Linked DNA regions of Homo sapiens: regions 2, 3, 4, 5, 6 and 7 are each linked to region 1. The links are contacts of gene promoters, found by promoter capture Hi-C in blood cells and fetal thymus (Javierre and others, 2016). All regions are on one chromosome and are shown on one strand. Each heading gives the region's core, a stretch centred on a gene start or on the middle of the fragment in contact. The rest is flanking DNA. Distances are from core to core; before and after follow the strand shown. Region 1 holds the start of ICAM2 (intercellular adhesion molecule 2). Region 2 has its middle 3.4 kb from the start of TEX2. Region 3 overlaps TEX2 (testis expressed 2). Region 4 overlaps TEX2 (testis expressed 2). Region 5 overlaps TEX2 (testis expressed 2). Region 6 has its middle 15 kb from the start of SMARCD2. Region 7 has its middle 5.5 kb from the start of GH2.

Region 1 (3,381 bases), core at 352-2,851:
ATCTGTGTGACCTTGAGCAAATCACTTAATCTTTCTGTGCCTCAATTTCCTCATCTGCAAAAAGGAATCAATAATAGTATCTTCCTCATAGGGTTTTTGTGCAGATTAAACAAATAAAATAAGTAAATATTTTAAAGCATTTAGAACAGTGCCTAGCACACAGTAACGCTATATAACTGTTTCATAAAATAAAAATAAATAGGCATAGCCAGGTGCAGCAGTTCAAGACTGTAGTCCCAACTAATCAGGAGGCTGAGGTGGGAAGATCACTGGATCCCAGGAGTTCGAGGTTGTAGTGTGCTATGATCATGCCTGTGAATAGCCACTGCACTCCAGCCTGGGAAATATAGTGTGACCCCATCTCAGTAAATAAATAAATAAATAAATAAATAGAGATGCATATGTAATAAAGCACTTAAAAATAAGAGAACAATAAACACAAAATTCCAGAGGGTGGCTACCTGTGGGTGGGAGGCAAGTAGCATAAAAGTGGACAAGTGGTGGCCAGGTGTGGTGGCTCACGCCTGTAATCCCAGCATTTTGGGAGGCCGAGGTGGGCGGATCATGAGGTCAAGAGATCGAGACTCTCCTGGCCAACATAGTGAAACCCTGTCGCTACCAAAAACACAAAAATTAGCTGGGCATGGTGGCATGCGCACCTGTAGTCCCAGCTACTTGGGAGGCTGAGACAAGAGAATCGCTTGAACCCAGCAGGCGAAGGTTGTGGTGAGCCAAGATTGTGCCACTGCACTCCAGCCTGGGCGACAAGAATGAAAACTCTGTCTCAAAAAAAAAAAAAAAAAAAAAAAGCAGATAAGTGGTGTTTGCAGTTTGGTGATACTCCATCCTTGTGCTGAGTGGCAGCTTCAGGTGTGTTTGGTATATTACTGTGCAGTATGATGTATATGTATGTTACATAAGCTTTTTATGCGTTACCTAGTAAATTTTACAAAAATAATAAAAGGGAAAAAGGGCCTTTCTACGTGCCTAGAAAGAAGAGGCTTCATGGGAATGTGAGCCATGGGTTAGGAAAGACCCCCTCGAACCGAGGCAGGTAGGAAGTGAGTGACTGAGATTCATTATGAACCCACCACGCCTGCCGGGGAGAACAGGGACTGTCCCTTCCCCTCTGCATCAGCTCAGATGGTCCAGATCACAGCCCACGTGGGCCCCTAAATAAGGAGGCAGCCCCACATTTCTACATCGGCCACCGAGATGGCAGAGCAGAGGAAGGAGAGAGGGGAGACAAATCAGGAAAGGAGCGCCAGGGCAAGTGCGTGAGCTCAGAGACCCAGCAGGGCAGGGCAGGAGCTTCACAGAGTGCAGAATGTCGAGCCACAGGAGCGCTGGGGATTCCCCAACCCCTGCACTTACCAGCGAGAAACTGAGACCCAGAGAGGGGAACGGACTAAAACTCAGACCTCGACACTGCCAAAATCCTTCCCATGCTGCCACGCTTCATTGGAGGGAAAGTGAGAAGCTCAACCTTACCCCTGTGGGCTCCAAGAAGGGTAGCTCTGGGATCCCGGGCAGGAAATTGGTGACAAGGTGACAAGGTGCGCGTGTCACAGCTGCCCAGTTCACGGCTTATTCAGTCTTCTCCCTCCCCCCACTCCCCACCAGAAGTGACGTGCTTCCTGTGCCCCGGTTCCCACCCTAAACTAGCCTCATTTAGCTCCACTCCCATTCCGCTTTTTTTTTTTTTAATTGTGGTAAAACGTACACAACAGAATTTACCATTTCAATTTTTTTTTTTTTTTTAGACTGAGTCTCAGTCACCCAGGCTGGAGTGCAGTGGTGTGATCTCGGCTCACTGCAACCTCTGCCTCCCGAGTTCACGTGATTCTTGTGCCTCAGCCCGCAGAGTAACCGGGACCACAGGCACCTGCCACCACGCCTGGCTAATTTTTGTATTTTTAGTAGAGACAGGGTTTCACCATGTTGGCCAGGCTGGTCTCGAACTCCTGACCTCAAGTGAACTGCCTTCCTCGGCCTCCTAAAGTGCTAGGATTACAGGCAAGAGCCACTGCGTCCAGCCAATTTTTTGTTGTGTTGTTTTTAAGACAGAGTCTTGCTTTTGTCACCTAGGCTGGAGTGCAGTGGCACAATCACAGTTCGTGGCAACCTCTGACCCCTGAGCTCAAGTGACCCTCCCTCCTCAACTTCCCAAGTGACTGGGACTACAAGTGTGCAGCCACCAGGCTTGGCTAATTTCTGTAGTTTTTGTAGAGACAGAGTGTTGCTTATGTTGCCCAGCCTGGTCTCAAACTCTTGAGCTCAAGCAATCCTCCCACCTCAGCCTCCCAAATGCTGGGAATGAGCCACCGTGCTAGGCCCATTTTAATTATGTTTAAGTGTACAGTTTGGGGCACTAAGTACATTCACATTGTTCTGCAACCATCACCACCATCCATCTCTGGAGCTCTCTCTTTCTCTTTTCTTTCTTTTTTTTTTTTTGAGATGGAGTTTCGCTCTGTTGCCCAGGCTGGAGTGCAGTGGTGTGATCTTGGCTCACTGTAACCTCTGCCTCCCAGGTTCAAACGATTCTCTTGCCTCAGTGTTTTTGTTGTTGTTGTTGTTGTTTGTTTGTTTGTTTGTTTTGTAGAGATGGAGCCTCACTCTGTCGCCCAGGCTGGAGTGCTGGAGTGCAGTGGTGTGATCTCGGCTCACTGCAACCTCCGCCTCCCGAGTTCAAGCAATTCTCCTGCCTCAGCCTCCTGAGTAGCTGGGACTACAGGTGCACGCCACCACGCCTGGTTAATTTCTTTTGTATTTTAGCAGAGATGGGGTTTCACCATGTTGCCTAGGCTGGTCTCAAACTCTTGAGCTCAGGCAATCCGCCCGCCTTGGCCTCCCAAAGTGTTGGGATTACAGGCATGAGCCACCGTGCCTGGCCTTGCCTCAGCCTCTTGAGTAGCTGGGATTACAGGCACGTGCCGACTGGCTAATTTTTGTATTTTTAGTAGAGATGGGGTTTCATCATGTCGGCCAGGCTGGTCTCGAACTCCTGACCTCAAATGATCCGCCCACCTCAGCCTCCCAAAGTGCTGGTATTACAGGCATGAACCACCACGCTTGGCCAGAACTGCCTTCCTTTTGAAGGCTGAGCAATATCCTATTGTGCGTGTGTGCCGCATTCTGTTCATGCATTCATATACTGATGGACACCTGTGTTGCTTCCACCTTTGGCTATTGTGAATAGTGCTGCTACAAACAGGGTTGTACAAATACCTGCTCAAGACTCTGCTTTCAGTTCTCTGGGGTATGTACCCAGAAGTGGAAATGCTGGATCATAATGGTAAAATATACACAACAAAATCTACCATCTTAACCTTTTTTCTTTTTTTTTTTTAGTGGTAATTCTGACTGGGCTTGGTGGCT
Region 2 (3,381 bases), core at 397-2,896, 250 kb after region 1:
CTCCTGGCAACATTCCTCTCCCCTTCCTAGTATCCCAGACACCTGCCTGACCCAGAAGTCATTGTCCTCAGACTTGGAGGTCAGCCCTCGCCCACTAGATCTTGCAGGTCAGCTGCCTCCCACACAGATCTCAGGCTCTTGGAATGGCCTCCACACAATAACCCTGTTTGTGCTGTGATTTCTGATGGATGTTGTGTTGCCAGGGACAACTCTGCACAAGGATTGATCAGCCTCATGAGAATGCAGTCTCTGGGCTGCAGGCATTACTGCCTGGGATCACCACTTGCTTCTGTTGCCCTTCCCAAAGGAAAAAGAATTCATGTCCCAACAGAAGAGGTTTCCAGTTGTGGTTTTCTGGAAATGTGCAACAAAGGCAGTTACCAATGGAGACACAGCCTGAAGCTCTCCTTGGCCACATCTTCAGCCCCCTGCCTCAGGGAGAGAGAGAGAGAAAGGGTAGGGGCCCTGGAGCTGCCCCTTGCAAAGGTCCTTGGAAGCTGGCAATGTGCCTCTCAGAGTGCCCACCAACCTCCTTTCCCTACCAAGCTCCACGTAAGCATTAAATTAATTAATACACTACCAACCAGATCTCAAACTAGAAGCCAGTAAGATCCAGCATGAACACTTAGAAGGATCCCTTCTTTTTGAAATCTGAGGAATTTGGATGCATTGAAAAATAAATGAACATATCATAACACAATAATGTTTCCTACCTTTTTTTTTTTTTTTTTTTTTGAGATGGAGTCAGCCTCTGTCATGTTGCCCAGGCGGGAGTGCAGTGGCGTGACCTTGGCTCACTGCAACCCCCGCTCAGGAGGAGAGCCCAAGAGTTTGAGACCATGTTGTCCAGGCTGGTCTCAAACTCCTGGTTTCAAGCAATTCTCCTGCCTCAGCCTCCCTGAGTAGCTGGGACTACAGGCACACGCCACCACACCTGGCTAATTTTTTTTATTTTTATTTTTAGTAGATACAAGGTTTCACCATGTTGGCCAGGCTGGTCTTGAACTCTTGAGCTCAGGTGATCTGCCCACCTCAGCCTCGGCCTCCCAAAGTCCTGGGATTACAGGTGTGAGCCACTGCGCCTGGCCTGTTTCCTACCTATTAAGAGGTTACTATGTGCCAGGTACTATGCCAAGTCCCTGGAACATAGCAGTTCACTGAAACCTTACAGTAACTCTTTAGGGTAGATATGACCATTATTTTCTCCTTTTTATGGATGCAGAAACTGAAGTTCACAGATTAGTGATGTGTCCAGGATAGCAGGGCTAGTTGAAGGAAGAGCCAGCATTCATGACCGTAACCACCAGGCTTTTTTGAGATGGGGTCTTGCCATGTTGCCAGGGCTGGTCTCAAACTCCTGGGTGCAAGCGATCCTCTTGCCTCAACCTCTCCCAAACTGCTGAGATTACAGGCGTGAGCCACTGTGCCTGGCTCAAATCATGCTTAAAAGAGTGATTTTAGAGCTTGGCATCTGTGACTCATTGTAGTACCTCTGAAAAAGGTTAGGGATTGTGAGGCTAAATTCAGATATCAAGCAAGATTCCTTACTTTGTCCCCCAGATAGCTACTCTATATGTATAGCATGTACCAAGTGATCTAAATTTTTTCACCTAGAGTAGGATCTTAAGTCACAGAAATGCAAGCCCAAGCTAATACTCTCCCCTCTTTCTCTACCCCCAACCCCTCAACCCTCATGCCAGGCTCTCTTGAAACCCAGGTTTCAACTATCAGGTTAAGCCCACATAGGTTCTGATATACTTGAAAGATTCCCAATTATTGCATTTCAAGATAATCCCTATTTTCTCACCAATTTCTAAACAAACCAAAAAATGCTCTAAGATTTTATTTTTTGTTTTGAAACAGGGTCTTTCTCCGTCACCCAGGCTAGAGTGCACTGGCACACTCATGGCTCACTGCAGCCTTGACCTCCTGGGTTCCAGTGATCCTCCCACCTCAGCCTCCTGAGTAGCTGGGACTACAGGCATGCGCCACCATGCCTGGCTAATTTCTTTCTACTTTTTGTAGAGATGAGGTCTTGCTGTGTTGTCCCAGGCTGGTCATGAACCCTTGGGCTCAAATGATCCTCCTGCCTCGGTATCCCAAAGTGCTGGGATTAGGCATGAGCCAGTATGCCCAGCCTAAGATTTTTAATTCTGTTTTTGACATTGCATTCTTGGAGACAGAAATGGTTAAGAAGTACAGAAAACCAAAAAGTTGATCCACTTGTATATCTAACAAAGATTAGGGATCATCATGCCACAAGCCACACCATTAATGAGCAATCACTGTGCACTCAGTACCAGGTGGCGGGCTGAGTACTGGGGATAGAGATGAAGGCACTTGTAGATGCTAGATCTAGTAGAGAAACTGACACGTTGATAGACCATTATAGGCTTCCTTAGAGGGAAGCCCAGGAGCCGTGGGGACACAGAATAGGCACTTAGAACCCTTGGGGAACCCAATAATGTTTTTAGGGGTGGCCAGATGAAGTTCATTATGAAGAGAAGCCAGAAAGTTTACAAAAACCCAAGTAAGAGTCACCAAACCCAAGGGAGAAGAGATTGAAAGAGAGAGCAGTCAACAGCAACAGATGCCACAGAATGGTCAAATTAGAAGAGGCCTGAAAGTATGCTCTGGGATTTCGAAATTAGAAGATTAGGGTCATTGACACATGCAGCATAGATGTGGCTGGAAATGTAGAGGCTCCCTAGAGCTGGGCTGAGGAGAAGAGCTAAGAAAAAAGAAGAATCGGCCAGGTGCAGTGGCTCACGCCTGTAACCCCAACACTTTGGGAGGCCGAGGTGGGTGGATCACTTGAGGTCAGGAGTTAGAGACCAGCCTGGCCGACATGGTAAAACCCTGTCTCTACTAAAAATACAAAAATTAGCCAGACGTGGTGGTGCATGCCTGTAATCCCAGCTACTCGGGAGGCTGAAGCAGGAGAATCGCTTGAACCCGGGAGATGGAGATTGCAGTGAGCTGAGATCATACCACTGCACTCCAGCCTGGGCAACAGAGTGAGACTCCATCTCAAAAAAAAAAAGAAGAAGAAGAAGAAGAAGAATGAAGAGACTGTGCAGTGGAGGACTGATGGGATAGGGTCCAAGGAGTCCCAAGGGGACAAGAGAGTAGCCCTGGGCCAGGGTAGGAAGCAAAGTCATCTCTCGAGAGTGGGTGGGGAGGGGATGATGAAGGGCTTTGAGGGGAACCATGAGGGTTTGGAAAGCCACCAAGAGGAATGAAAGTGGGAACTGCCCGATGGAGAGGGAGGATTCTGGGAGACCCATGCGTTTGTGGTGGCACCAGGTCTGTGGAGTTGGATGGATGGCTCTCTGGGGCTTGGCCACAGAAGCCAGGTATGGAGAATCCAGGGTTAGGGAT
Region 3 (3,381 bases), core at 223-2,722, 220 kb after region 1:
ACATGTGAAAAAATTTTTAAACAGCAGCAGCATCATTGGCAGTATTATACTGCTGCTTAAAAGACTTAGAATTTTGTGACTCAGTGCTTAAAATGACATTCAGAAGAAAAATAGCCTCAGGCCAACAGCCGCAATCCTTCACCCTGTGCCCAGGCTCCTGTGTCTGGGATTCAGGGCCATGCTGAAGCCAGCTGGCCTCCAGATGCAGTGACAAATCCAGGGAAAGCATTTGGGGTTGTCAGAGCTCATGGAGTGACTGCTGAGGGGTCGGTTCATGCGTCTGGAAGACAGTTGGGAACTACTGTCTAATGTCTGGCAGCTAGGTTCAGTGCTGAGCTCAGAAGCCGACCAGTGAGCAGGAAGATGCTCAGTTCTGCTTTGAACTGCGGCCAAGAGGCCAAGCGGTAATTTCATCTCTCCTCCAGTTCTTGCCGCAGGAAAACTGACAATAAGGAAAAAACAGATATGGCTGGGTCTCTCTCTCAAAAGGACACTGACACCAAAGTCCTAACTCCTCAAGAGGTCCTTCAAACAAATCTATCAAAATCTGTGAAAAGAAGCCTCACTGAATTCCAAGATCCCAAAGATAATTGTTACTCCTAAAATTTGTTGTAGTAAAAATAACAGCGGGTCTCAGCTCAAGTGTCACATTCTCAGAAAGACCTTCCTGACTACCTCATCCTAAAAGTGGGGCCTCCTCATCCCTTATTATCTTTCTAAAATTATTATTATTTTTTTTTAAAGGCAGGATCTCACTCTATCACCCAGGCTGGAGTGCACTCGTGCGATCATAGCTCACTGCAGCCTCGAACTCCTGGGCTCAAGCAATCCTCCTACTCAGCCTTCTGAGTAGCTAGGACTACAGGCACATGCCAGTACACCCAGCTAGTTTTTCAATGTTTTAAATAGAGACAGGGTCTCACTGTTGCCCAAACTGGTCTCAAACTCCTCGGCTCATGTAATCTTCCTGCCTCAGCCTCCCAAAGAGCTGGGATTACAGGAGTAAGCCACTGCACCTGGCTCTCTCTTTATTTTTGAGAACGGTACTGTCTGACATTGCCTACCTGTTACTTTTTGCCCCACAAGAAAAATATGCTGTATGTGGCAGAAAGTTAGGTTTATTCACTGCTGTATCCCAATGCTGGCACTGAAATATTTATTAGTTTAATGAATGAATGAAGGAACACTGCACATAATACCTAAGTAACCTATTTATGTCCTTTTTAGAAAATTCCATATAGTTCAGAAGAGGAATGTTTATAGTTGAGTATATTTTACAAGTTGAGCATCAGGTTTTAGCTTCCATAATGTAACATTACAGCACTGTTGCTATAAGAAAGTGAAATCTACCTTAAAACTCAGATGTCACTATTCAATGGTATCCTTTCCAGGAACAAAAGCCTTCCTGAGGACTATAACATGGTAATTCTCTCCTCCACGGAACCACTTTGTATAAGGTTGTTTCTGCTGGGAAAATACATTTCTTTTAGGACATGGAAAATCTAATCCAGTTGCTGTAACAAAGAAAAGGATCCTTCCAGAAAAGGGAGGAATTACTACTTCTGGGTGGTGGAAACTTGTCATATCTTGATCATACAAATAAAGGCTCCTCTGCAGGATGTGATCTACCAGGGGTTTGGAAGTAGAAATCAAAGGGCTGTTGCCACCAAGAGGACTGCAGTTTCAGACCTGTGGTGCCAGGGCCTGCCTCTGAACCAGAATCATCCTCCTCCCAGCCTGTGAGAAAGTACAGCAAAGGACTTAAAAGCAGGACACAAATCCAACATATGCAGTTTTCATAACGTACTTTGTTAAAAACATGTATTCTCAAATTGTGTTACACATAATACAGGCACGCAATGCCTCCTTCATAACTAATGTAAAAAACAATTTGGCCAGGTGCAGGGGCTCATACCTATGATCCCAACACGTTTGGAAGCCAAGGTGGGAGGATCACTTGCGGCCAGAGTTTGAGACTAGCCTGGGCAACATAACGAGATCCCATCTCTAAAAAAAAAAAATTTTTTTTTTTTTTTGAGATGGAGTCTTGCTCTGTCACCCAGGCTGGAGTGCAGTGGCACGATCTCAGCTGACTGCAACCTCTGCCCTCCAGGTTCAAGCGATTCTTCTGCCTCCGCCTCCCGAGTAGCTGGGACTACAGGCGCACACCACCACACCCGGCTAATTTTTGTATTTTTAGTAGAGACGGGATTTCACCATATTGGCCAGGCTGGTCTCGAACTGCTGACCTCGTGATCCGCCTGCCTCGGCCTCTCAAAGTGCTGGGATTACAGGCGTGAGCCACCACACCCGGCCAAAAATTTTTTTAAAGATAAAGCAATTTCTCTAAAAAATTAATTTCAGGCCATAAAAACCCACAAGGTCAAAGGTTAAACCCATCTTTTGACTCTCAGGGGAAAAAAGCATATGAATAACCAGGAAAATGAATACAGAGTTGGTACAGCTTTTTCAATAATAAAAATAATAAAACTGTTATTAGACAAAAATGTCTTCTTCAAAAAGACCCTTGGGGGAAACACTGGGCCTCAGCTCCTGATGTGAGTGGGGAGGTGCATCTTTTGGAAGCACTACTGTCAGGCTGTACAAGTCTCAAAATGAGGCCTGGCTGGCAGGTTCCAGCTCTGCTAATCTTACTGAGGAACAACCAACAAGGGACATTCCCAGCTGAACGCTTTAACACTCAAGGGAAAATGGTGTCTGTAACAGCAGCAAACTTTCTCTTCAAAACTTTGCATCTTATTTTAAATGAAGGGTTCTTAACACACACATGCATGCAAGTTTTGGTCTGTGTGTACATGTGCGGATTTCTGCGGAGAGAGTTCATAGTGTTCAGAGTCCTAAATGGTGACTATGTCCCAAAAGAAGTTAAAACACCACTTTTTTTTTTTTTTTTTTGAGATGGAGTCTCACTCTGCTGCCCAGGTTGGAGTGCAGTGGTGGGATCTCGGCTCACTACAACCTCCACCTCCCGGGTTCAAGCGATTCTCCTGCCTCAGCCTCCCAAGTAGCTGGGACTACAGGCATGCACCACCATGCTCAGCTAACTTTTGTATTTTCAGTAGAGACGGGGTTTCACTATGTTGGCCAGGTTGGTCTCGAACTCCTGACCTCGTGATCCGCCCGCCTCGGTTTCCCAAAGTGCTGGGATTACAAGTGTGAACCACCGCGCCCAGCCAAAACACTACTCTTTTAAAGGGTGGCAGAACTTTAGCCTTTGGATTATTTTGGGAAACCAAAGTTTTTCTGAGCTGCCTCTAAAGATTTCTGTCAAGCTGGGAGCCACTTGGGGTCAAAAACCTTTTCCCAAGAAAAATCCTAGGAAGCCTGAGAACTAACACACAATCCTGATGTGGGTGTGGG
Region 4 (3,381 bases), core at 499-2,998, 200 kb after region 1:
AGAAGCAACATATGTTTTTCATTTAACTATCACCTAGTTTTATAAGGGCAATTTAAAAAGAAAATTATAGAGGTAATTTAAAAAGAAAAGTTTGGTATTTGATAATTCTCAGTGGGCTGAAAAACTCATTTAAGTTGCTTTCATAACATAAAAGGATGATATGTAAGGCTCTGCTGTTCTGAGGCTGCTTCACCCACAGCGGTGGCTATAAATGAAGGTAACTGTGGGCACAAGTCCAAGTACAAAGTGCATGATTTTGAGGTTGAACAGAGTGAATCGGTCCTTCAGGAACCAAGGCAAGAGTGGAGAGGCCCGTCTGCAGTTGAGGATAAGAAGGCCTGGGAATCTAAGGGCAAAGTTAGGCCCAGCCTAGCGCCAAAGGGTGAAAACAGCAATGCGTTCAGAAGCCTGCGGTCTCAGCAGTCAGGCCAGGCCCCAGGGAACAAAAAGCTGGCACCTGCTCAGGAAGCAGAGTTATTTTTCGTGTGGAGGTCACCAGGACCCTGCTTGCCTAATCCTCCACACACTTGGGCCCCCTGACTGGCCAGGTAAAGCGACCTCTGATCAGACTGGGCGGACAGAGCTGAAGGTGGGCCCCAGGGAGAGCTGGGTGTCAGGTGGCCAGATGGGGGCAGGCTCTGGCTCACTGTTGTTATTGTCCTCCAGGGCTCACTCAGACAGTGGCCTCAGAGGTTCACAGTAAATGCCCCCAAACCCACACTAACCAAAGCCTGGTTCCACTTCTCTAGATTTTTACTAAAATAAGCCACACGAGGCCGGAGCATCACTACTGCTCTTTAAATACAAGAAAATGTCCAGGCTTCTGTTTGCTCATCTGCAAAATGAGGGGATTAGGCTAGATAAACAAAGGCTGCTTCCAGGCCCCAAACTGCTGGGTAATTGAGTGTGCTAGAACCAGAGACCATGGTTTGGGCTCTAGACAACCTATCAAGTGGTCACTGCCTCTGCCTCCTCCTGGGGACCACTTCAAGTTCCCTCTTCTCTCTGTCCTCCCAGTGGCTGGCTGCTAAGGCCAACTGAGCCGACCCTCCCACAGCCACAGCCATGCAGGACAGCCAAGGCCAAGAGGAAGGACCTGACTGACACCCAGGAAGACTACATGGTTTGTCCAAGGGCACAGCACTGACAACATGGGCTTCCTGACACTGAGGCCCGATGCCCGGCAGGGTGCCTTTTCAAACATGCCACACACGCTCTTTATTCCTGCTTTGTCCCAGCTTTTGTACCTGCCCTCTGTGCTCCGTCATGGACAGCTCACTTACAAGCTAAGACCTCAGTTCTCAACCAGCAGCATGTGACTGGCCGCACTGAGAAATGAAAGGTCTCATTATCCATCTGACAATCTGGTACCATATAAAATGGCTAGCCTCCTGCCCTCTACTCCTGAAACTCAATTATACCCAGGCTCAAAAAAAGAGACAAGCTTCTCTCAAGCCCTCAGGAACTGAAAGGCCAAAAAAGAAAGCTTCCTTCTCAACAGTCTCTTTTTCCCATAGTTCCAGCAGACTACAAAGCCCTTGGGTTTTAACACTGACCCCCCAAGCCTTGTGATGGGAAGGAGAGCTGTAGCTCATGTTGTCGCCAGGCTCCCATAGGTATGATTTCGTGCTGGAGAGGTGTTTAAGCAAAAGTCTGACATGATCAAAGTGGTACACAAAATTAATCACGTCCCGTCCCAGAATGGATGAGGGTGGCAGAGGCAACATGGAAAAACAGGTCTGGAGTCTGGTTGTCTGGGAAGGCAGGCTCCATTATCAGGCTCACAATTCTGCTGAACACAACTAACAATGAATACATTGAAAAAAAATTTCTGAATGGCTGGGCACGGTGGCTCACACCTGTAATCCCAGCTACTAGGGAGGCTGAGGCACAAGAATTGCTTGAATCCATGAAACAGAGGTTTCAGTGAGCTGAGACTGTGGCACTGCACCCCAGCGTGGGTGACAAAGTGAGACTCTGACTCCAGAAAAAAAAAAGTCTGAAAGGCTTTGAAGCTTCAAGAACTGAGCAAGGAATAACAGTACAGAAACTAAAGAAAACAGGAACCCCGAGGTATGAGCTCTAGAGAAGCCACCTTGCCCTCAAGCATTGGCCTAGCCTAGTCTGGCAAAGGACACTTTCACTTTTTTTTTTTTTTTTTTTTTTTTTTTTTTAAAGACAGAGTCTTGCTCTGTCACCCAGCCTGGAGTGCAGTGGCACAATCTCGGCTCATTGCAACCTCCGCCTCCCAGGTTCAAGTGATTCTCCTGCCTCGGGCTCCCCAGTAGCTGGGACTACAGACGCCCGCCACCACACCTGGCTAATTTTTGTATTTTTAGTAGAAATGGGGTTTCACCATATTGGCCAGGCTGGTCTTGAACTCCTGACCTTGTGATCCACCAATCTTGGCCTCCCAAAGTGCTGGGATTACAGGTGTGAGCCACCACACCCGGCAGCCTTTCACTTTAACAGCCTCCTGAGCAGAAGTCAACATCCAGGGCTGGCCAGCGTGGAACACCAACTGGAGACTCTTCCTCAAGGAGCCGGGACCCCAAAGGACTACAGCTACTAGGTAACAGGTGAACCAGAAGCAAACCAGGCCTCACTTAGACTGGAGGCCTAGGTTTGCCTCCTCTGAAAGAACCAGGGAATCTCAACCATGAGCTTCTTCCAAGGTGGTCTTGGACCAGAAATACCTCCAGGGACCTGGCAGAAGAAATTCTCTCCCCACGAAAGCAAAGCACTTTCACCCGAAGCCTCAAGTTATTCCGAGAAATACTTTCTCAAATACAATGAATGGTAAGCACATAACCAAAGGTAACCAAGCAGATGAGGAAACAAGACTAAGGACCAGCAGAAATAGAATATAACAGAAAAATAAGGACTTCAGATAATGGAATTATCAGGCATAGATTTGTTTTTACAAGTATGCATCAAGATGAGTTTAAAATACCTACAGGGAGTCCAGGCACAGTGGCTCACGCCTGTAATCCCAGCACTTTGGGAGGCTGAGGTGGGTGGATCCCTTGAGGTCAGGAATTCGAGACCAGCCTGGCCAACATGGCAAAACCTCATCTCTACTAAAAATACAAAAATCAGCTGGACGTGGTGGCGCATGCCTGTAATTCAAGCTACTCAGGAGGCTGAGACACAAGAATCGCTTGAAACTGAGAGAAGGAGGTTTCAGTAAGGCAAGATTGGGCCACTGCACTCCAGCCTGGGCAACAGAGTGAGACTCCATCTCATCAAATAAAATAAAATAAAATAAAATAAAATAAAATAAAATAAAATATCTAAAGGGAGAATTACAGGCAAGCAGACCAGTTTTAAGGCTATTCTGGCAGCCAAAGCATGATGTAAGAAATGCCTAAACTAGAGGAG
Region 5 (3,381 bases), core at 357-2,856, 180 kb after region 1:
TATTTTATCTATGTTGTCCAATTTCTGGGCATAATGTTGTTTACAATATTTCCCTATAATCCTGTGAATATCTGTAGTGTCTATGGTGATGCCCCCTCTTTCAGTCCTGACACTGGTAATTTGTGCTTCTCTCAAATCTTTCTTTTCGTATGTATGTATGCACATATATATGTATATATGTATGTATCTATCATCTATGTATTTGATACAGGGTCTTTCTCTGTCATCCTGGCTGTACTGCAGTGGCACAATCATAACTTACTGTAACCTGGAACTCCTGGGCTCAATTAATCCTCCCACCTCAGCCTCCCAAGTAGCAAGGGCTACAGATACGTGTCACTACACCAAGCTAATTTTTTTAAAAAGATCTTTGTAGAAATGGAGTCTTGCTATGTTGCCCAAGCTGGTCTTGAACTCTTGGTCTCAAGCAGTTCTCCCACCTTGGCCTCCCAAAGTGCTGGGATTACATGCATGAACTACCACACCCATCCTCTAACAAGCTTTTAATACTATTAATTTCCCTCTAGGCACTGTATTACCTGCAATTTCTGATAGGTTGTATTTTCAGTTTCCTTCAGTTAAAAATATTTTCTATTTTCCCTTATGACTTTATCTTTAGGCCCACAGGCTGTTTAGAAGTATTTTGCTTAATTTCCAAATATTTGAGAAATTTTCAGATATCTCTCTTACTGGTTTTTAGTGTAATTTCATAATAGGAAACAGGCTTTGTATAATTTCAATTCTTTTAAGCTTGTTATATGGTCTATCTTGGTTCCAAGTGCAGTTAAAAAAAATGCATTCTGCTGTTGAGTAGGGTTTTCTATAAATATATTTATTTGTCTTTTTAAGCACAACCATTTTCACCAAAGATCTCCTGACACAGAACACACAGCTTTCTTCTTATTCAATTTGGTTGCAGAAAATACTGTCTTACATATATAACAGGTTTACCAGGGCTAAAGTTCTAAAGGCAACTAGATTAATAAAGAACTTGAAGCAGATATAATCGTTTTTCTAAGATACTTCAGAGGTTGTTTATGCTTGCAGAGCTACTAAAACCAAGAAGAATCCATGAAGGGCGGGGGGAAGTTGGAGCTGATGAGAACTCTATTAGATCAAAACAGCCACTTGTTATCAGTGTCATTTATGAGCCATTTGGCCATACAGTCCCTGCATGCAATTGCTCTTCTTGAATCATTTCACTCTGAGCACACATCTGCTGGCTAGAGTAGAGGCTACTTGAGAATATGGATTATGTGTGATACTGCCTTCGTCCATCCTAATACCTAAGCTGAGATGCTCAGCATTTATTTAATGGCTGTTTTTGAATTATGATAATCACAATTTGATATAAGATAGACATTACTGCGACAAATCACCATATAAAATATTTTTCGTTATTTCCAGGTACATAGAATTACAGATACATGTACAAAAGCCAGTAGAATTAACATGATACTGGCACCAAATGAGAAAAAAAGGATTAACATGATACTGGAATTTCAGACAAAAATCCCTGCATTATGTTTATCAACCACTCACCACCAGACTAGAAGGGCTAAAGGAGAAAAAAAAGACAAGTATTATATTACATGAAACTGTTCTCCAAGAAAAGGACAGTCTCTGAGAAATAGAGTAAAGTAAGCTGTGGGGATTTTTCCCATTTGAAACTGCTGGGATTGTACAGGTTAATTATCTGATTTATGAATAAGAGAAACTTAGGGATAAAAGTTGTTTCTCTCCAATTGCTTTCATTTCGTCTTTCCTAAATCAGAAAATGCAGACTTGTCCAGGGAGGTGCTGTACAATGGAAATATTAATATAATGTGAGCCATAAATGTGATCATGAAAATATGTAATTTTATTTTTACTTTATTTTTTTGAGATGGAGTCTCGCTCTGTTGCCCAGGCTGGAGTGCAGTGGCGTTACCTTGGCTCACTGCAACCTGCACCTCCTGGGTTCAAGCAATTCTCCTGCCTCAGTCTCCTGAATAGCTGGGATTACAGGTGTGTGCCACCACGCCCGGCTAATTTTCGTATTTTTAGTAGAGATGGAGTTTCACCATGTTGGCCAGGCTGGTCTCAAACTCCTGACCTCAAGTGATCCACCCACCTTGGCCTCCCAAAGTGCTGGGATTACAGGCGTGAGCCACTGCGCCTTGCTGAAAATGTGTAATTTTAAATGGTCTAAGAGCCACATTAAGAAAGAAAAAGCAGGTAAAATTAATTTAAACAATGTATTTTATTTAAATTCATATCAAAATTATGATTTCAACATGTAATCAATATTAAAAATTATTACTGGTATTTTACATTCTGTTTCATACCAAGTCTTCAGAATCCAGTGCGTACTTTACGCTTAGAACACATCTTGATTCCAACTAGCTACACTTCAAGGGCTCAACAGCCACATAGGGCTCAGGACTAGTATATAAGAGACAGTTCAGGGCCAGTTATTGGGTTCAAGCTTTTTAGCCCTAGACCCTTGGCTCAACTATGAATAGAATGGGCAAAGCCTTCCTTTCTCTTCTTGTGCATGCTTTCAACACACTCAGTCTTAGTGATAAGAGACAGTCATTCAGTACATGGCAGTTTTCTGCCATTTTATTAGATGCTTTGCATAATTAAATGAGAGAAGATAATCTAAGTAATCACCTAATGAAATCTATTGTAGAAATTCAAAATCCCTTTTAAAAGTTAACCTGCAATATTAAAAACTCAGAAATATTAATAAGAGTATTCTATGTAGGAGGCTTTTGAAAAACTCATAGTTCTATAGGAAAATTAAGATAATTAATAGACAAACATATCATTTTTTTAGCTTATTCTTTTGATTTTTAGACTTAGAAAACAAAACAAGACATACAGGCATGTGTGTTGAGATACATACACCAGCTCATCTGTTCACAGGTCAGTTTCAGGTGCTGAGCTGTTACTCTGCCCCAGTCTAACCAACTGCTACTCAATTATTATTCCTAGGAAAATTCCTGTCCCTGGATAACAAGAGCAACCATTTCCACAGTGCTTCAGGGATTCGGTTTTTAGCCACAAAGCCAGGCATTCAACCCAGCAACCTGAGCTACCACCTTAGCTGAAGAACAGCCACTGTGGAGTTCTTGCTGGCTGCAGCCTGTGTGCTCGCTCACACATGGGCACAGTTCTGAGATGAGTATGCAATTACCTTCTTTGCTGACAGCTCTGACAGATAAAGGTCATCCTCTACCACTTGCCAAATTCAGGAATCCCAGAACAACCTGATTCAGAAGAATGTGAAAGAGAGAAGGGAGTTTCAAGTCCTACCTACACAGTTCAAAAGCACAAAACCTTACCTGCTGCACTGCAGGAGGCAGAAGTGAGAGGCAAGAAGTAGGTAGGCATAGA
Region 6 (3,381 bases), core at 621-3,120, 160 kb before region 1:
AAGGGAATCCTTAGCCATAATTTGAGAGAGACACTGCTTTCAGGGATAAGTAATGAAGTTCGAATCCTGTGAGGGTCCACAGCAGCCTATTATGGGGAGCTTTCAAGAATTCTGAAAGTTTAGGAAGATATTGGTTTCCTGGGCATAATTTTTTTTAGCAACTCCATAATTTCCATGGTGATACTAATAGAGAATTCAAGTTCTCAAGAAAGATGATAGGTGGAGGGAATAGTGGTGAAATCAGAGCTAACTTGTTAACTACAGTTTTTTTTTGTTTGTTTGTTTGAGACGGAGTTTCACTCTTGTTGCCCAGGATGGAGTGCAATGGCACAATCTCAACTCACTGCAACCTCTGCCTCCTGGGTTCAAGTGATTCTCTGCCTCAGCCTCCTGAGTAGCTGGGATTACAGGCACGCATCACCATGCCTGGCTAATTTTGTATTTTTAGTAGAGACGGGGTTTCTCCATATTGGTCAGGCTGGTCTCTAACTTCCAACCTCGGGTGATCCGCCCACCTTGGCCTCCCAAAGTGGGGAGGATTACAGGCGTGAACCACCCCGCCCGGCCAATTACAGGTCTTTTGTCCTGTCTGGTTGTCTGAACCTTTTTTTTCAGGGCAGGTTTCCTGTTCTCTAACCTGGAACTAGATAGAATAGGTTCTGTATTTATTTGGGTCTCGTGGTCCTCACCAGAGTCATTGGCATATGTGGTTCATTTTTTTTTTTTTTTTTTTTTGAGATGGAGTCCTGCTCTGTTGCCAGGCTGGAGTGCAGTGGCACAATCCCGGCTCACTGCAACCTCTGCCTCCTGGGTTCAAGCGATTCTCCTGCCTCAGCCTCCCGAGTAGCTGGGATTACAGGCGTGCGCCACTACACCCAGCTTATTTTAGTACTTTTAATAGAGACGGGGTTTCATCATGTTGGCCAGGATGGTCTTGATCTCTTGACCTTGTGATCCGCCCGCCTCGGCCTCCCAAAGTGCTGGGATTACAGGCGTGAGCCACCGCGCCTGGCCGATGTGGTTCATATTTCAGGGGTCCCGGAAGAGTTGTTTGAGGTTTCTATTTGGCCAAGTCAGGCCCTGGTGGAGTTTGGACAGTCCCTAGTGGTCAACTGCAGCACTACTTGCCCAGACCCAGGACCCAGTGGAATTGAGACCTTCTTAAAGAAAACTCAGGTGGGCAAAGGGCCTCAGTGGAAAGAGTTTCTTCTGGAGGATGTCACAGAGAATTCCATCCTGCAGTGCTTCTTCTCTTGTGCAGGGATTCAAAAGGACACAAGCCTTGGCATCACTGTGTATTGTGAGTAGGGCTGAGGGCTGGGGGCAGGGGGATGGAAAGGAGGAATGGGGAAACATGAACATGTCTTATTTAGGGAAGGATGGGACAAATGTTTCTAATTAGGGGAGATAATTAAGGCCCTTAATAAAGATTTCTGGCATACTGTAGGGATTCTAGATCCAATCACCTTTTTCATTTATTTTTTTTTTTTTGAGATGGAATCTTGCTCTATTGCTCAGGCTAGAGTGCAGTGGTGTGATCTCAGCTAACTGCAGCCTCCACCTGGGTTCAAGCAATTCTCCTGCCTCAGCCTCCCCAGTAGCTGGGACTACAGGCAGCCACCACCATGCCTGGCTAATTTTTGTATTTTTTTTAGTAGAGACAGGGGTTTCACCATGTTGGCCAGGCTGGTCTTGAACTCCTGACCTGAAGTGATCTATCTGCCTCAGCCTCCCAAAGTGCTGGGATTACAGGTGTGAGCCACCTCAAGTCCAGCAAGTAGAAGTGAGCCGGGCCCACTTCTACTTCCCTTTGATGTAGGCTTTCTTCTGAGTTTTAAATTAGGAGCAGACCATAGAGAGCATCCAGATTATCTGTGCTTGAAAATATCTTCAATACAGGAAACATATGCTAATAATGTTTATGGTTAAATTACCAAAAAGTATAAGATTAGCCTGGCCACAGTGGTTCATGCTTTAATCCCAGCACTTTGGGAGGCCAAGGCAGGAGGATCACTTGAGGCCAGGAGTTTCAGACCAGCTTGAGAAACACAGTGAGACCTCTGTTTCTACAAAAGAAGTTTTTAAAATTAGCCAGGCATAGTGGCGTGCACCTGTGGTCCCAGCTACTTGGGAGGCTAAGGTGGGAGGATCCCCGGAGCCTAGAAGTTCAAGCCTGCAGTGATCTATGATCACACCACTGCACTCCAGCCTGGGCAACAGAGTGGGATCCTGTCTCTTAAAAAAAAAAAGTATGAAATTAATGCTGAATTGTTTGCTACAAGCTCTTGGAATAAACAGAGATTGGAGAGAGAAGGGTTTTTGTGAGCTGGGGCAGCCTGAGAAGGCTCCATGGTAGAGGAGGCTCCTGCACTGCCCTCCCCCAGGATAGTTAGGGTTTGAATTGAAGGGGACAGGTGAGGAAGGCCTTTCAGGTGGGCAAATAACATGGACAAAGATATGGCACGAAAGCAAATGTGGTCTCTATGGGGTCAGAACTTGGTTAGCTATAGTTTGGTTTGTTTGTTTGTTTGTTTTGAGATGGAGTCTTGCTCTGTTGCCCAGGCTGGAGTGCAGTAGCACAATCTTGGCTCACTGCAACCTCTGCCTCCCGGGTTCAAGCAATTCTCTGCCTCAGCCTCCCGAGCAGCTGGGATTACAGGCACCTGCCACCGCACCTGGCTAATTTTTGTATTTTTAGTAGAGACTGGGTTTCACCATCTTGGCCTGGCTGGTCTGGAACTCCTGACCTCAAGTGATCCGCTTGCCTTGGCCTCCCAAAGTACTGGGATTACAGGCGTGAGCCACTGCACCTGGCCTGCTACAGTATAGATTTTATGTGATGCTAAGGAGCCCCCGGAAGCTGCTCTTGCCTCTGAAGCCCCTCTGGTAAGAGATCAATGCTTTCCAGAATGGCAGCAACAGTCAAAGCAAGGGACTCTCCCTCAGCAGTCACTCTTCTTTGCTATGGCCATAGCCACTTTTGATGCGAAGAAGAAGAGCCAGAAGACTAACTCACCCCATCTAGGGCAGGGATGGCAGAAAGCTGACATTGCTGATCAGATGGTTTAAGGGTGGCAGTCACCTTCTGTGATTTGTATCACCTCATCTTTCTGTCCTATGCTGTTTCTTTCTGGAGAGGTGGGTGGCATGCTCATCAAGTCCTGCCTTTTTGTCTTAAAGAGCCACCAGAGCAAGTGATCCTGGAGCTGCAGCCTGCCTGGGTGGCTGTGGACGAAGCCTTCACAGTGAAGTGTCATGTACCCAGTGTAGCACCCTTGGAGAGTCTCACCCTTGCCCTTCTCCAGGGTAACCAAGAACTGCATAGAAAGAACTTTACGAGCTTGGCTGTGGCCTCCCAAAGAGCTGAAGTCATCATCAGTG
Region 7 (3,381 bases), core at 559-3,058, 130 kb before region 1:
AGCAGGGGGTGAAGTAGGGAGGGAGTGTGGTGCACTGAACTCAGCTCCTTGGGATACTGTTTCTGCAGACCAACCACGGTTAGAGGAATCCAGTTGCTCTGCCAAACAGACCTGGCTGGAAGGGATGGAACACACGCTCACCTGCGTCCCAAAGGGAAACCCAGCTCCAGCCTTGGTGTGTACCTGGAATGGGGTGGTCTTTGACCTTGAAGTGCCACAGAAGGCAACCCAGAACCACACTGGAACCTACCGCTGCACAGCCACTAACCAGCTGGGCTCTGTCAGCAAAGACATTGCTGTCATTGTTCAAGGTAACCTTTGCTGCCCTGCTGCCAGGCCCAGGATGGAAACCCCTCAGGGGTTTGGGATTCTTATCTAAGCATGAAAATAAGAAAGATTCTACTAGGTTGGGAAGAATGAGACTCAGAAGTGGGCCTGGTGGGCTGGGGTGGGTGATCCTTGTACTCTCAGACTTTCCTAACTCTATCTTCTGTGCTTGGGCAGGACTGGATGAAGGAATAAGCTCTACCCTCTTTGTCATTATTACCGTTGCCCTTGGAGTGGGTGTCATCACCATAGCACTGTATTTGAGCTATCGGCCCTGCAAAGTGGACAGGAGGAAATTGCTCTATAGGCAGAAAGAGGAGGACAAAGAGGAGGAAAGCCAGTTTGCTGTTCAGGAAGAGAAAAGTACAACTCATATAATTGACAACTGTTTGATTGAATGAGACTTCTGCTACTGTGGTTTCCCAGGGAGGGAAGAAGGGATAGAGGAGAAAGGAAGAAACACAATGGCAGGCTGCATTCCCCTTTGTGTACGTCTGTCCTGTAAAACGGTGTTTCAGGCCCCCATGCCCCATGTCCTGTGTGTCCAATATGTCCACAAGCTCACCATTCTCTCTCTCTCTCTCTTTTCTTTTCTTTTTCTTTTTCTTTTTTTTTTTTTTTGAGATGGAGTCTTGCTGTTGTCGCCTAGGCTGGAGTGCAATGATGCGATCCTGGCTCACTGCAACTGCAGCCTCCCGGGTTCAGGTGATTCTCTTGCCTCAGCCTCCCTGGCAGCTGGGATTACAGGTGCACACCACCATGCCTGTCTAATTTTTGTACTTTTCGTAGAGATGGGGTTTCACCATGTTGGCTGGGCTGGTCTCAAACTCCTGACCTCAAGTGATCCGGCCACCTTGGCCTCCCAAAGTGCTGGGATTACAGGTGTGAGCCACCGCGCCCAGCCACCTTTCTCTTTAGAGCTCACTCTATTCATTAGGAATCTCAGTCTCAATGTTTGATTTGTAAGAAGGCCTCTTGCTCCTTGCCAGGTGCATCATCAGTCCACTCTTAGATCCAAAAAAAAAAAAAGAAAAGATCTTGCCGTTTCTTCATGGTTCTCACTGCCCTTTTCTCTTAAACATCATACTAAAGTCAGGCATATCTTAGAAATACAACTCATATTTCATGGTTTTCTGATTACTAACTGGGAACTAAATCTGTAGTCCAAGGACAGGACTTTGAAGGGAGTAAGTATCAAATATGGGGCCAGGAATCAGAGCTCTGTTCCTATCTCCACTTTCCCTTGCTCCCCTGACCTGGGCTTCTGGAGGGCCAGCTCCCAGAGCTGAGCTTGTTGACATCATTAAGGATCAGTGGCAAGCTTCAACTCAGTAACCATCTGTTGCGGGTCTTGGGGGAGTATACAGATGGTAAGAAATTCCACTTTGGGCCAGACGGGCATCCTATCTAGCTCAGTATTCTGTCTCTGAAGGAGAAGGTAGAGTTCTTCCATGAAATTGGCCTCATAGGTTAAGAGCTCCAAACATCTCTGAATTCCTTTTCATAGAGTGATCAACTGTGAGTTCGCATTTGCCAGTTTTCTTTTTTTTACCCATATGGGCATCTAGGTTAAAGTTCCAATCTTTACTCTCCCTTTTCATCAATAAGTGCATATTTTCTTCTGTCTGTAAACAATTTCCTTGAAGCTTCAAGAGGAATCTTCTTGTGAAAATGTTCATATGATTTTATGTTTCAGCTTCTTTCCCTGTCCTTGAGAAAGAGTATATTCACCCTCGGAGAAGGCGTGAGGAATCACAGAACCAGATGTTTTCTCCCAAATCAGTCAAGAAATGTTCACTGGAATGTTGCTATGGTAAAAATAAAAGTGGTTTTATGATGTCCAAATGCAGTTCCCTTCCCTTCTGTGTCATTGCTAAAAGCTCTTATGTCAAATGGCTGCATTTTATAACTTTTTTTTTTAGATGGAGTCTCGCTCTTTGCCTAGGCTGGAGTGCAGTGGTGTGATTTCGGTCCACTTCAAACTCCACCCCCGGGTTGAAGCAATTCTCTGCCTCAGCCTCTATAGATTAAGAGTAGCTGGGATTACAGGCGCCCACCACCATGACCAGCTAATTTTTTGTATTTTTAGTAGAGACAGGGTTTCACCACCTTGGCCAGGCTGATCTTGAAGTCCCGACCTCGTGATCTACCCACCTCGGCCTTCTAAAGTGCTGGGATTACAGGCCTGAGCCATCACTCCCGGCTGCATTTTATAACTTTAAGTACAATTTCTAAGGAAAAAATACCGTGTTGATAGCATAAACAACCAGCCCAGGGCCGGGGGTGCATTAACTGAGGGCAGCAGCCTATTTGACCTGCTTTCAAAACTGAAATTCAGGCTGGTGTGGTGGCTCACGCCTGTAATCCCAGCACTTTGGGAGGCTGAGGCAGGTGAATCACTTGAGCCCTGGAGTTTGCGAATAGCCTGGGCAACATGGCAAAACCCCATTTCTACAAAAAACACAAAACTTAGCCAGGTATAGTGGCACATGCATGTAGTCCCAGCTACTTGAGAGTCTGAGGTGGGAGGATCACTTGAGCACGGGAGGTGGAGGGTTGCAGCGAGTTGAGATCATGCACTGCACTCCAGCCTGGGCAACGGAGCCAGGCCCTGTCTCAAAAGCAAAATAAAGGAACAAAAATGAAAGCTAAAGGTCAGACTTCCAGATAGAGAGAGGTCCATAGCCTTCCAAATTGCAGATACCAGCTAGAAAAAACCATGGCATCAGACAGCAGAGGGAAAACGTTTTCCCATTCTTCCCAGACCTCCCCTGAGTCTGGTGCTATAGATTAAGTGTAAAAGTAACCCTTTGGTTTCACCACATACAAGGCAGTGGGGATACAGTGGTGAACAAAACATTGTTCCTGGCTTCCAAAAATATATTAGGAAAGCTAGACAAACAAGTAGGAGATTACATTTGTGCATGAACTCCTATGACTGGGAAAACAGATTGTTAAGAGAAAGCATAACTCGGATCAAGGAAGGCTTCCCGGAGGGACACGAAATATCTTGACTTTGTAAAATAGCATCATCCCCGAACATGAACTTTTCAA

Evidence for each region. Contacts are between HindIII fragments. The CHiCAGO score rates a contact against its expected background, and 5 or more counts as called.
Region 2: a fragment that was not itself captured here is called in contact with the fragment with the promoter of ICAM2 in region 1 in 16 of 17 cell types (naive CD4 T cells, megakaryocytes, fetal thymus and 13 more); the score reaches 11.0 in naive CD4 T cells.
Region 3: a fragment that was not itself captured here is called in contact with the fragment with the promoter of ICAM2 in region 1 in 2 of 17 cell types (endothelial precursors and monocytes); the score reaches 6.0 in endothelial precursors.
Region 4: a fragment that was not itself captured here is called in contact with the fragment with the promoter of ICAM2 in region 1 in 1 of 17 cell types (naive B cells); the score reaches 6.1 in naive B cells.
Region 5: a contact is called between a fragment that was not itself captured here and the fragment with the promoter of ICAM2 in region 1, in 1 of 17 cell types (endothelial precursors). The highest score is 5.7, in endothelial precursors.
Region 6: a fragment that was not itself captured here is called in contact with the fragment with the promoter of ICAM2 in region 1 in 1 of 17 cell types (M1 macrophages); the score reaches 6.7 in M1 macrophages.
Region 7: a fragment that was not itself captured here is called in contact with the fragment with the promoter of ICAM2 in region 1 in 1 of 17 cell types (M0 macrophages); the score reaches 5.3 in M0 macrophages.

The regions. Positions count from the first base shown.
Region 1 is chr17:64,019,032-64,022,412 of GRCh38, forward strand. ICAM2 (intercellular adhesion molecule 2) reads right to left here and starts at 1,602. Exons shown (of 5, transcript NM_001099789.2): 1 at 1,492-1,602. RefSeq lists enhancers at 1,222-1,341, 1,436-1,936, 1,682-1,771, 1,992-2,041. The HindIII fragment of the contact is 3,360 bases long and covers 920-3,381 here.
Region 2 is chr17:64,265,018-64,268,398 of GRCh38, forward strand. No RefSeq gene overlaps it. Among named protein-coding and RNA genes, the nearest start is that of TEX2, 3.4 kb to the left of the region's middle. The HindIII fragment of the contact is 6,256 bases long and covers 1-3,381 here.
Region 3 is chr17:64,240,911-64,244,291 of GRCh38, forward strand. The region is part of intron 1 of TEX2 (testis expressed 2); the gene reads right to left. Among named protein-coding and RNA genes, the nearest start is that of TEX2, 21 kb to the right of the region's middle. The HindIII fragment of the contact is 4,422 bases long and covers 1-3,381 here.
Region 4 is chr17:64,216,262-64,219,642 of GRCh38, forward strand. The region is part of intron 1 of TEX2 (testis expressed 2); the gene reads right to left. Among named protein-coding and RNA genes, the nearest start is that of TEX2, 45 kb to the right of the region's middle. RefSeq lists enhancers at 1-780, 379-578, 781-1,612. The HindIII fragment of the contact is 529 bases long and covers 1,485-2,013 here.
Region 5 is chr17:64,197,373-64,200,753 of GRCh38, forward strand. The region is part of intron 2 of TEX2 (testis expressed 2); the gene reads right to left. Among named protein-coding and RNA genes, the nearest start is that of SNORA50C, 53 kb to the left of the region's middle. The HindIII fragment of the contact is 1,717 bases long and covers 749-2,465 here.
Region 6 is chr17:63,856,124-63,859,504 of GRCh38, forward strand. It overlaps the pseudogene TCAM1P. Among named protein-coding and RNA genes, the nearest start is that of SMARCD2, 15 kb to the left of the region's middle. The HindIII fragment of the contact is 6,211 bases long and covers 1-3,381 here.
Region 7 is chr17:63,885,742-63,889,122 of GRCh38, forward strand. No RefSeq gene overlaps it. Among named protein-coding and RNA genes, the nearest start is that of GH2, 5.5 kb to the left of the region's middle. The HindIII fragment of the contact is 325 bases long and covers 1,647-1,971 here.